Regions from separate parts of the Homo sapiens genome. Here regions 1 and 2 are each linked to region 3. Evidence: promoter capture Hi-C in 16 types of primary human blood cells and fetal thymus (Javierre and others, 2016). All regions are on one chromosome and are shown on one strand. The core of a region is centred on a gene start or on the middle of the fragment in contact, and the rest is flanking DNA. Distances in the headings are between cores, read along the strand shown. Region 1 holds the start of HNRNPA2B1 (heterogeneous nuclear ribonucleoprotein A2/B1). Region 2 holds the start of CDK13 (cyclin dependent kinase 13). Region 3 overlaps KBTBD2 (kelch repeat and BTB domain containing 2).

Region 1 (3,477 bases), core at 978-3,477, 6.7 Mb before region 3:
TACATTCACGTGGCATAATCTCTAAGATAACAATTACTGAAAGCTGAAGCTTACTTGATTGGCCATGTGGCAAGCGACAGGCACAAAACAATTTTCCAAGTCAATAGGAAAAACCTCAGAGCTGAAATCTTTATATGCTGTACTACACAGCTGTATTCTGGGCACTTATGAATGTTAAGGAAACCTGTCTTAAAAGTTAACTAGGTTAAAAAACCTCAAACGAGAGAAAGTGATATCCAGGACCAACTGCTACAAACGCATAATGCAAACTAAAAAGTCACACGTAATTTTCAATCAATTATTTTTTGTTCCTAGCAAGCAGCATTAATTGCTGCTCTCATCCCAGTTCTACGGAGCTCTCCCTCCATTCGCATGCTCCCAACTCCTAAAAAGTAGTGGTAAAACCCAGTTCAGATTTTTTTCCTGTAGTTTTCATGACTCGTAAAAATTAAAGAAAAAATTAACTGAAATGATCAAACTAGCTCCTATGAGACACAAAGCAGTCTTTTGAAATGGTTACTTGTCACGATAGTTATTTTCATTTTTTCAGCTAGTTTTTATTCTTAATTGTCGTCAGCACATAGGTTATCTCTAAACTGAAATTACGGATAATGTACATTTATAACAAGTTTTACAAATCACTAACAAAAAGCAAAAACTCATTACTTACCTCACAATTTATCCAAACTTACCCGATGTCCACTATCGATTTTAAACAATGTTATTTTATAAACGTGCTTAGGGTCAAAGAAAATAACCAGGTAGACCCCCTTCGCTTGAGACCTTATGCTTATCAATGTAATGTTCAACCAAGATTGCAAACAAAATGAGAAAAGTAACAAAGTTCAAATACAGAGCGGCCCAGGCCCAAAACAGTTTTGCACATCAATCCATACGCATTACAGGAAGGAGCCTCTGAAGCCATGTTTTAATCGAAGTATAACTAAGGACAAAATCGTTATTTCACTTTCCTCGTAATCATCTATAAAGGTCCATGGATCTGTCCCGTAAGGGTTAAACTTCTCAGTAACAACATTACTTAAAATGAGTCAGCTCTACAACTTAAACGGAATCCTTAAGAACAGTAAAGGATTCTGACGCGAATATCCCTCCCCCGCCCAGAAAACCACCTTCGTCCCTGCCCCTCGTGGCCGATGGCTTCCAATTTATGTTTATTTTGCCGCGGTTCATCTGTCGTTTTACTGACTGCAGACCCAGATAAAACCGTTACTCAAAGGAAAAAAAAGACAGGAAAAACATAAAATGGTTTCTTTGTCCTACGGCTCGCATTGAACCCGGCCCGACGCCCTGGGTGGTGATATCTTCTCTGAAACCGGGCCCGCAAACCCGGAGCACCCCCCCTCCCCGCTCTTCGGTGTGGCTTCCGAACGCAATGGCGCCATTTCATCGAGGGGAAGGCTGAGCGCCTTTAATGAGGTGCGCAGGACTCTAAAGATCCAAGCTCACAAAACACTCCAAATCCACCTCGAAACGATATGAAAACAGCCCGAGAAGAAAAAAAAATAGTTAACCACTTCTACTTCTTGATAGAGAAAGCACACTAAGAAAATAAAAGAGTTATAAGGAAAACGCTGAGAGGAAGGCGAGCCATGAAAATGGCGGCCGCCAAATCCGGTTCCCGGGAGAGAGGGGGAGGGGAAGCTCCGCAGCCTCGCTCACGAGGACCTGCTGCCCGCCGAAACGCTCGCCGAGGAGACGCCGTGGCCCCCGAAGCAGCGTGCTTTAGAAAGGGAATAAGAATTCCCGCCTCCGCGCCCCACTTTCACCCCAGCGGGGCAGCGTCCGCCATGTGAAAGCTCCCCATCCCCCACCCCCAGTGAAGGGAAATGGCGCCGGGAGGCTGAGGGTGGGGAAGCTGTTTGTACGCTCAGGCCTCCGCTCAAGACCCCGTTCATAAACCTTAAGCCCCACTGCTACTGAATTGGTCCGATTTCCTGCCTCTCTCCCACGGAGGCGGCTGGCCGACTTCCACTGAGGCGCCAACGGCCTCGCCATGCCCTTTTCAATAACTCATTGATTTCAAACCCGTTACCTCCATCGCGGACTCAGTCGCTTCAGCCCGATTTCCCGCAGCCGAGCGAGATGAGAGAGATCTCCGCGGACGAACACGAACCGGACTCGTCCTGGCGCTGTAGTGAGAACTGCCGCTGCTCGAGAAACAACTCTGCGAGGAGCACCTCCGCACGGGACCCGGCGCTGCTGCTACTGCCGCTAGAGCCGCTGCCGCCGCTTTTCTAGAACCTTCCCCCCCACTAACGCGTCTTCCGCTACGTCAGGCCGTCGCGTAAACGCCCTATCCGCCGCCAATGGCGGGAAGGCTCTACGCCCCACCTTACGCCAAATGCGTACTCCTCCCACCCTTGCGGCCAGAGACAGTACCCGACGTTACTTCCGTAAATGCGCTCAATGAATTGCGGAAGGCTAGAGTCCTGCTAGTTACTACCTCTTGGAATAGGGTCCCGCCCCCTGCCTTGGCGCAAGGCAGGTGAGAAACGGTCGCGCAGTTTGAAATTAACGCCGACGGGAGGGGCTTAATCCGCAGCCTGGAGATCCAGCCCCCTCAACCCGGGAGGTGGTCCCTGCAGTTACGCCAATGATAACCCCCGCCAGAAAAATCTTAGTAGCCTTCCCTTTTTGTTTTCCGTGCCCCAACTCGGCGGATTGACTCGGCCCCTTCCGGAAACACCCGAATCAACTTCTAGTCAAATTATTGTTCACGCCGCAATGACCCACCCCTGGCCCGCGTCTGTGGAACTGACCCCTGGTGTACAGGAGAGTTCGCTGCTGAAAGTGGTCCCAAAGGGGTACTAGTTTTTAAGCTCCCAACTCCCCCTCCCCCAGCGTCTGGAGGATTCCACACCCTCGCACCGCAGGGGCGAGGAAGTGGGCGGAGTCCGGTTTTGGCGCCAGCCGCTGAGGCTGCCAAGCAGAAAAGCCACCGCTGAGGAGACTCCGGTCACTGTCCTCGCCCCGCCTCCCCCTTCCCTCCCCTTGGGGACCACCGGGCGCCACGCCGCGAACGGTAAGTGCCGCGGTCGTCGGCGCCTCCGCCCTCCCCCTAGGGCCCCAATTCCCAGCGGGCGCGGCGCGCGGCCCCTCCCCCCGCCGGGCGCGCGCCCGCTGCCCCGCCCTTCGTGGCCGCCCGGCGTGGGCGGTGCCACCCCTCCCCCCGGCGGCCCCGCGCGCAGCTCCCGGCTCCCTCCCCCTTCGGATGTGGCTTGAGCTGTAGGCGCGGAGGGCCGGAGACGCTGCAGACCCGCGACCCGGAGCAGCTCGGAGGCGGTGAAGTCGGTGGCTTTCCTTCTCTCTAGCTCTCGCTCGCTGGTGGTGCTTCAGATGCCACACGCGTCCCGGGGGCCCGGTTCTCCGCTCCCCTCCCCTCCCCTTCTCGCCGGACCCCGCGCCGGGAGCTGCGGGAAGGAGTGGAGGGTCGGGCGGTGGCCTCGCGGCTGGCCT
Region 2 (3,644 bases), core at 1,145-3,644, 7.1 Mb after region 3:
GTTTTCTTTGAAAATATATGATAGAAGATGACATTCTCAAGTGGAACTGGTTGTACACGAGGGGAGCTGCAAGCTAAACCTCTTATTTGCTCTCTTTGTTCTGTTATTCCAGTCTATCTAACGTAGGACGATGGAACAAGTTGATCCTACATGTTTCTGAAAAAGCCACTTGCTAAACAGTCTTTGGTAGGAGGCTGGCTACAGGACCTTCACTCAACAATACTGTCAACCAGAAATTTGTTTTAGGAACCCTGCCCCCTATTTTTCTATTCAGTTTCCCAATGCCCATCCCATGGTGTTGCCCACCCAGGCCTGCCCTCCTGGGAAATGCTCTGACTTTAAGATTACCTATTCCTTTGCCTCCTCCTTTATCCTTCAGCAAACCAACATCCTTTGTACTCGGTCAGTGAAGTCTGATCTTAGCTTAAATCAGGCCAGTCTGTGATACTGTGATGTCAAACTGATTAAAATAATTTACACTAAGGTATTAACGATGGATAGATACCAAGTGTTTAAGAACTAAACCAACTGATGATCTGAACAAATGAATTTTCAAAGGGGTTACTACATTTAGTCATTGAACAGACGGCTTAGCTTTTTCTTTTATTAGAGGCAGGGCCTCGCCCTGCTGATTGGCCAGGCTGGGGTGCTGTGGCACGGTCATGGCTCACTCCAGCCTCGAACTCTTGAGCTCCAGAGATCCTCCTGCCTCAGCCTCCGGAGTAGCTGGGACTACAGGCGTGTGCCACTGCACAGGGTTAGCTTGCGTTTCCAACCATTCTAAAAGCCAATAAGCCATTTACATTTTAATCTAATTATCCCGAGTGCTTAGTCTGTAACTGAAGGGCAATTCTAAGGCAAGAAATGAGATGTGAGGTCACTATATGGCTATGTTTGGCAACCCCAAAGGTTTAGATATGAAGGTGAAAGTGGGTGAAGTACTAAGAGGGCAGTCCTCATTCGCACAAGATGTTTTTATTTCAAGCCTCCTGAGAATTTGGAATTTTCAGTAGTTCCTTTTAACATTCCACTTATTTCCTGTATTGATTTAAAGCTTTAAAAATTTTTATTTTAAAGTAAATAGTGTTACCGAAGCTTGAGCTGTGATTCCCAAGTGTGTTTTTTAGGATAAGAAGGGGCCTCGCGGAAGTTGCGGTGAGCCGAGATCGCACCATTGCACTCCAGCCTGGGCAACGAGAGCGAAACTCAGTCTCAAAAAAAAAAAAAAAAAAAATGGGGCCTCGAACTTTGGCGTACGTGAGACAAGTTAAACCAACGCCATCTCCACCCTGTTTTGCGGGGTGTTTTCTCTCCTTTCGCAGCTGTTCCACTCCCAGGGCTTGACTGAAGGTACACGGGGGGTAACTGCCTACTCCAGAAGGCCACCAACAGCATTATTTCCCTCGCAGTCTCCAGAAACACTTGTTCTCACTGTGACCTTTCGCTCAACAGGCAGGCAGTGCGGCGTCTGCAGAGCCGGAACCGGCACTGCGCGCTGGACGCAAGCAACAAGCACGACAGGCGCGCCACCACGGGCAGAGTCTCAAGCAACAGCAGTGGGCGGCACACGAATCCTCTCCTTTCTTTAACCCTTCTTCACACGGAGTCCCACCCTCGCCGGAAGCCGAGCGGTTTCTACATCATGCCACTTCCGGTGCGGCCTGCCGGCCCCTGGCGGGAGCGAGCACGCCAGTGCGCGGTAACTTTGTTCCCGCCTCTCTTGCCCCGGCCACCTCTCATCTTCGGCTTTCTCTGAGCGTGAATTGCGGGCGCGCTCCCGGTCGTACGTCAGGGCTGAGGGGAAAAGCCGAAAGAGCGAGGCGAGAAGGAGGGGTTGTGGAGGTTAGGGCCCAACCAGCAAGTCCCGTTGCTCTCCCTCCTCCTGACGAGGAGCGGAGAGGGAAGGGGAGGAGCGAGCCGGGGCAGGCCGCGCACACCAGGAGCCTCCTCGTGGAGGGGGGGAGCGGAGGAAAGGGGTAGCTCCGCCACCTCTGCTGGCGGCGGCGGCGGCGGCGAAAGAAGAAGAAAGTCAGGGCCCGTACCTACCGCCACAGACTCAGAAACGCCCCTGCCCCCATCTCCCCGGAAATAGCCCCCCGCCCAGCCCCGCACAGTCGCTGCCCCAACCGAGAGCCGCAGCCCGGTCGCCCCCGCCTCGCCCCGCCCCGCTGCCCAGCCCCGCGGGCCGCAGAGTGCGCGAGGCCCTAGGCCGGGAGTTGTTGTCAGGCCCAGGCCACTTCCGAGGCGCCTGCGGTGTGTCGCCGCCACCACAGGAGGACGACGTCGACGCCGAGGAGGAGGCGGTGGAGGCGTGTTGTTGTCTCGCCCACTCCCCTCCCCTGAACTTGCACCCAACGTCAGGGCGCGATGGAGTGAAGCGGCGACGAAGGTGGTACTTCCGCGTTGCGCTGCCCGAGCCGAGAGCGCGGCCAAGGCCGCTCCCCCACCCCCGGGGGCACTTGGAGGACTCGGGACTCCCCCGCAGGTCAGCGCCCGGCGCATCTGGTGTTTTCGCTGCCGAGGATAGGACGACGAGCGCAATCGGGAGCTCCGCCGCCCGGATTCCTGCTTCCCTGGGGCCCGGAGGCTGCTGCGTACCCCACTGTGACCTGGAACCCAGGGACCCGAGTCCCGACCCGGATTATCGTGGCGCTTTTCCCGGCCGGCTCTGGTGCTCGGTGTCCCTCCGCCGCCGCTCCCGTTTCCGGCGGGGGAGATGGCCAGGATCTGACCCGGGAGGAGGCCGCACCCGCGCCGCGCTCTGCGGCTGGCTCTAGGCGATGCCGAGCAGCTCGGACACGGCGCTGGGGGGAGGCGGGGGCCTGAGCTGGGCGGAGAAGAAGTTGGAGGAACGCCGCAAGCGGAGGCGATTCCTGTCCCCTCAGCAGCCGCCGCTGCTGTTGCCGCTCCTGCAGCCGCAGCTCCTGCAACCGCCGCCGCCCCCGCCGCCTCTGCTCTTCCTGGCTGCTCCCGGCACGGCCGCCGCCGCAGCCGCCGCCGCCGCGGCCTCCTCCTCTTGCTTCAGCCCGGGCCCCCCTCTGGAGGTCAAGCGGCTGGCGAGAGGCAAGAGGCGCGCAGGAGGGCGGCAGAAGCGGCGTCGCGGGCCCCGCGCCGGGCAGGAGGCGGAGAAGCGTCGGGTCTTCTCGCTGCCCCAGCCGCAGCAGGACGGCGGTGGCGGTGCTAGTAGCGGCGGGGGTGTGACCCCGCTGGTGGAATACGAGGATGTGAGCTCCCAGTCCGAGCAGGGGCTGCTGCTGGGGGGGGCCAGCGCGGCAACGGCGGCGACGGCTGCCGGGGGAACGGGGGGCAGCGGCGGGAGTCCGGCCTCCTCCTCCGGCACCCAGCGGCGCGGGGAGGGGTCGGAGCGCAGGCCCCGCCGGGACCGCCGCAGCAGCAGTGGCCGCAGCAAGGAGCGCCACCGCGAGCACCGGCGGCGGGATGGGCAGCGCGGTGGCAGCGAGGCCTCCAAGTCCCGCAGCCGCCACAGCCACAGCGGCGAGGAACGGGCCGAGGTCGCCAAGAGCGGCAGCAGCAGCAGCAGCGGCGGCCGCCGGAAAAGCGCTTCGGCCACATCCAGCAGCAGTAGCAGCCGCAAGGACCGGGACTCGAAGGCCCACCGCAGCCGGACTAAGTCGTCCAAGGAG
Region 3 (3,552 bases), core at 332-2,831:
ATGATAGGTCTCCCTCCAGGAGGGGCAGTGCGGCTATAAATCATTCACCTGTAGGAAGCACATTCAAATTGTACATTACTAACTTAGGGAGTGCTGCATCTCCCAATGCTACAAATGTCAATAGAGAAGATTAAAAATTTTTGTTGGAAAAGATCCAAGGCGTTCTCCATGGAGGTCAACCGTTGAAAAATAATTGAGTACAAACCCAAACTACTTGGGTTAAAGCCCCAGTTCTGCAACTTAATAGCTGTGTGGCCCTTTTTAAGTTATTTATTCTCTATGCCTCAGTTTGCTCATCTATAAAATGTAGTTAAAAGTACAACTCTCTTCTCAATGAATTGTTCTAGGATTACATTTCATACTTGGTTCAGTACCTGACACACAGCACTACACAGATATTCGAAATTATTTTTATTAACCCACCCACTGGTGAAGCTTTTGCAGCACTTTCCCAACTCCTGGATTCCACACCTTCACCAGGTCCGAAGATTCCAATTTCAAGGTCTCAGCACTCCAAATACAGTTCTCTTTTTTCATTCTGTCTAAATGGTATTTTACATAAGAGAAATCCAATGTTTTCAGAGAATATTGGGACTTTTTTGCAAACATTTGACACTTGAAATCTGAATTCAGTGTTCTAAAATATTAAGATAATTTTTCCTTTTTTTTTCCTTTTCTCACATATTTTGATGGTACAAATAATGAAACAAACTAGTGCTTAAAAGACGACCAATCTTGAGGAGGCTGATGTCAGTGTAAAAAACTAAATGAGAGTCCAGAAAGGCACCAGTCATAAAACAAGCCTTTCTTTATTTCAATGAGATAGTTTTCTCCTTAGGAAGGACAAGAGATGGGTGCTAGAAACAGTTTGCTTTCAAGTTATCAAAACAACCACGACAGTTGAGAATGTCTGGAAAAGACCATTTGTTTTTTAGATTGTCAACTGCTACACAAACAGAATTTTCTGGAGTTGTGACAGGCATCAATTAAAAAACAAACCAAAAAAAAACAAAAAAACCAAAAAAACAAACACCTGGCCTTTTGAAGAATCTATCAAGTTTTAAAAATTTCAGCATACTTGCAGTGAGCCGAGATCGCATCACTGCACTCCAGCCTGGGCGACACAGCGAGACTCCGTCCCAAAAAAAAAAAAAAAAAAATTTCAGCATAGCTTCCTCTGCTCTAGTCACATTCAGAGCTTAGGTCTGTTCTCTCTTTCCAACCATACTGATAGATGACATGGCTCCATCAGGTTAATTACGCTCAGCACCCTAAGTAAATTCAGGTCACAAGTACAAGCTGTACTATATTATGATTAACAAGTTATCTCAGTTTTAAAAAATTAAACAAGAACATAAAGGCAATGCCACCTGCGATACAATAATCATATGAGTATACTATGTCCTTTTATTTTGGGTATCACTTTTCCTTTTTCCTCTCACCTCTGCGCAGTGACTTAAGAAAGCTGGGGAAAAGTGGCCAGGCGCAATGGCTCACACCAGTAAATCCCAGCACTTTGGGAGGCCGAGGCGGGCAGATCACCAGGTCAGGAGATCGAGACCATCCTGGCTAACACGGTGAAACCCCATCTCTACTAAAAATACAAAAATTAGCCCAGCGTGGGCTACTCAGGAAGCTGAGGCAGGAGAATGGCGTGAACCCGGGAGGCGGAGCTTGCAGTGAGCCAAGATCGCGCCACCGCACTCCAGCCTGGGCGACACAGCGAGACTCCGTCTCTTAAAAAAAAAAAAAAAATTACTTGAGATCGGCCGTCTGCGGTAGCTCACGCCTGTAATCCCAGCACTTTGGAAGGCCGAGGTGAGGGGATCACGAGGTCAGGAGCTCGAGACCAGCCTGACCAACATGGTGAACCCTCATCTCTACTAAAAATACAAAAATTAGCCAGGCCTGGTGGGGCGCGCCTGTAATCCCAGCTACTCAGGAGGCTGAAGCAGGAGAATCACTTGAACCCTGAAGGCGGAGGTTGCAGTGAGCCGAGATCGTGACACTGCACACCAGCCTGAGTGACAAGAGACTCTGTCTCAAAAAAAAATTACTTGAGATCAACCTGTCATTTCTAATACTGAGTTATTTAAGTATCAGTTGGTCTATTCAAACTCTACAAAACTGAAAAGATTAAGCTAACAAAGGACTTTGAAATTTTCACTCATATTTTATGACACCAGGATCAATCCTTTTTCCTGGCCTTACTTGTCTTAGGAATGTGGGCAAAGAGAAGAGGGGAAGGGGGACTCTTTTCTAAATGTGTAACATTTTTGGAAAAACCAATGTTATCATTTGGCTTTTAAGACTGCATTCAAGTTTCTAGGAATTCACCTTGCACATTCAATGTTCAATGTTTAGGAATGAAAAGCTCAACATTTCTACCAACCAGAAGAAAATCTATGGAGGAGCATGGACATATGTACTGATACCTCTATTCCTTCCCATCTCCTTACATGCCCTGTGAATAACATAAGTTAACATTTTATAATGCTTCTTATGAGAGCAAAAAGGGGAGTAGAGTTACAGCACTCATAAAGTCTTCCTACAAAACTGTGCAAAGAAAACACCACTATGTGGAAACGTGTGGACTACAGAGCATGCTCAACAGAAAGGCCACAGCACTCCCGAGTTACTGACAGAAAACAACCTCTTGAGGATTCCAGGCCCCAACCTAAAAGGGCTTCAATAAGCACTAAGCCAACAGAAGATCAAAGTGAAGAAGTAAGCTTAACATTAGTTATCAGCCAGATGGAAAGAATAGCAAAATTCCACATCATCGAGATTAGAAAACAACCGACTGGCTTTTCAATTTACTTTAGATCAGAAAAAAAAGTCGGGGAAAAAAGTCCTTATCAAAGGTTAACCAAACTAAGTCATTCACAATTACAAGAGATCTAAGACCCATACTACTCAAATTCGGCAAAAATGTACAACTCAGAGGGAAGAGGGGGAAGATCCCTGTTAATTAGTTGCCTCGATAAAAGAAAATATCATTTTGGTCAGTGCACAGCGTTGATAGGGTTTCGTTTCTCAATGCCTAAATGCTGTGAGCCCGACGTACAGATTCAAGTATAAACAACACGTGACCAGTCCTGTTGCCTACGTCTTCATAAGGCTAATTGACACAGAAGATAGTTCACACACACACCCTTTTAAAGTTCATTTTGTATTTTGAATTCTTTTCCTATTTTCACTGGAAGGGGTCACCGTGGTAGCCCGTGGGATGGACGCTCCTCTACCTTTTGAGGCAGGTAGAGTTCTTAGATAGCTAAGCCCAAGGGAAAAAAAGATGTTAACTCAAAATAACCGCCCCACACCAAACTAAGCGATTTTTCTATTCCCCGGTTGTTCAATCCGTAGGGAGAAGGAGGTGGTCGAATTCAAGGAAGTTAAAGATTTCACAAAGTAAACACGTACACAATTTTCCGTTTCAAAGGGCAGTTTCTGCTTTCTTTTTTAAGTCGATATAGACCATAACAGGAGCTCTGTTCGTCTAGACCTCTCTTGGTTAGTTCAGATGTACGCGGGGGGAATACAGAAGGAAGG

Evidence for each region. The method cuts DNA at HindIII sites, captures the fragments that hold promoters and counts their contacts. A CHiCAGO score of 5 or more calls a contact.
Region 1: the fragment with the promoter of HNRNPA2B1 here is called in contact with a fragment that was not itself captured in region 3 in 1 of 17 cell types (non-activated CD4 T cells); the score reaches 5.9 in non-activated CD4 T cells.
Region 2: a contact is called between the fragment with the promoter of CDK13 here and a fragment that was not itself captured in region 3, in 1 of 17 cell types (fetal thymus). The highest score is 7.7, in fetal thymus.

The regions. Positions count from the first base shown.
Region 1 is chr7:26,198,519-26,201,995 of GRCh38, forward strand. It overlaps HNRNPA2B1 (heterogeneous nuclear ribonucleoprotein A2/B1), which reads right to left and starts at 2,228. Exons shown (of 11, transcript NM_002137.4): 1 at 2,054-2,228. The coding sequence starts at 2,059. CBX3 (chromobox 3) reads left to right here and starts at 3,227. Exons shown (of 6, transcript NM_016587.4): 1 at 3,227-3,308. RefSeq lists enhancers at 670-1,643, 1,552-1,671, 1,644-2,616, 1,782-2,171 and a silencer at 3,112-3,477. The HindIII fragment of the contact is 8,290 bases long and covers 48-3,477 here.
Region 2 is chr7:39,947,862-39,951,505 of GRCh38, forward strand. CDK13 (cyclin dependent kinase 13) reads left to right here and starts at 2,395. Exons shown (of 14, transcript NM_003718.5): 1 at 2,395-3,644. The coding sequence starts at 2,781. It overlaps CDK13-DT (CDK13 divergent transcript), which reads right to left and starts at 1,558. Exons shown (of 1, transcript NR_158201.1): 1 at 1-1,558. RefSeq lists enhancers at 844-1,763, 1,263-1,392, 1,463-1,712, 1,764-2,682, 2,183-2,462 and 3 more and silencers at 1,953-2,182, 2,973-3,262, 3,333-3,392. The HindIII fragment of the contact is 3,453 bases long and covers 1,094-3,644 here.
Region 3 is chr7:32,887,554-32,891,105 of GRCh38, forward strand. All of the region lies in intron 1 of KBTBD2 (kelch repeat and BTB domain containing 2), which reads right to left. Among named protein-coding and RNA genes, the nearest start is that of KBTBD2, 2.4 kb to the right of the region's middle. RefSeq lists an enhancer at 1,207-1,732. The HindIII fragment of the contact is 2,297 bases long and covers 434-2,730 here.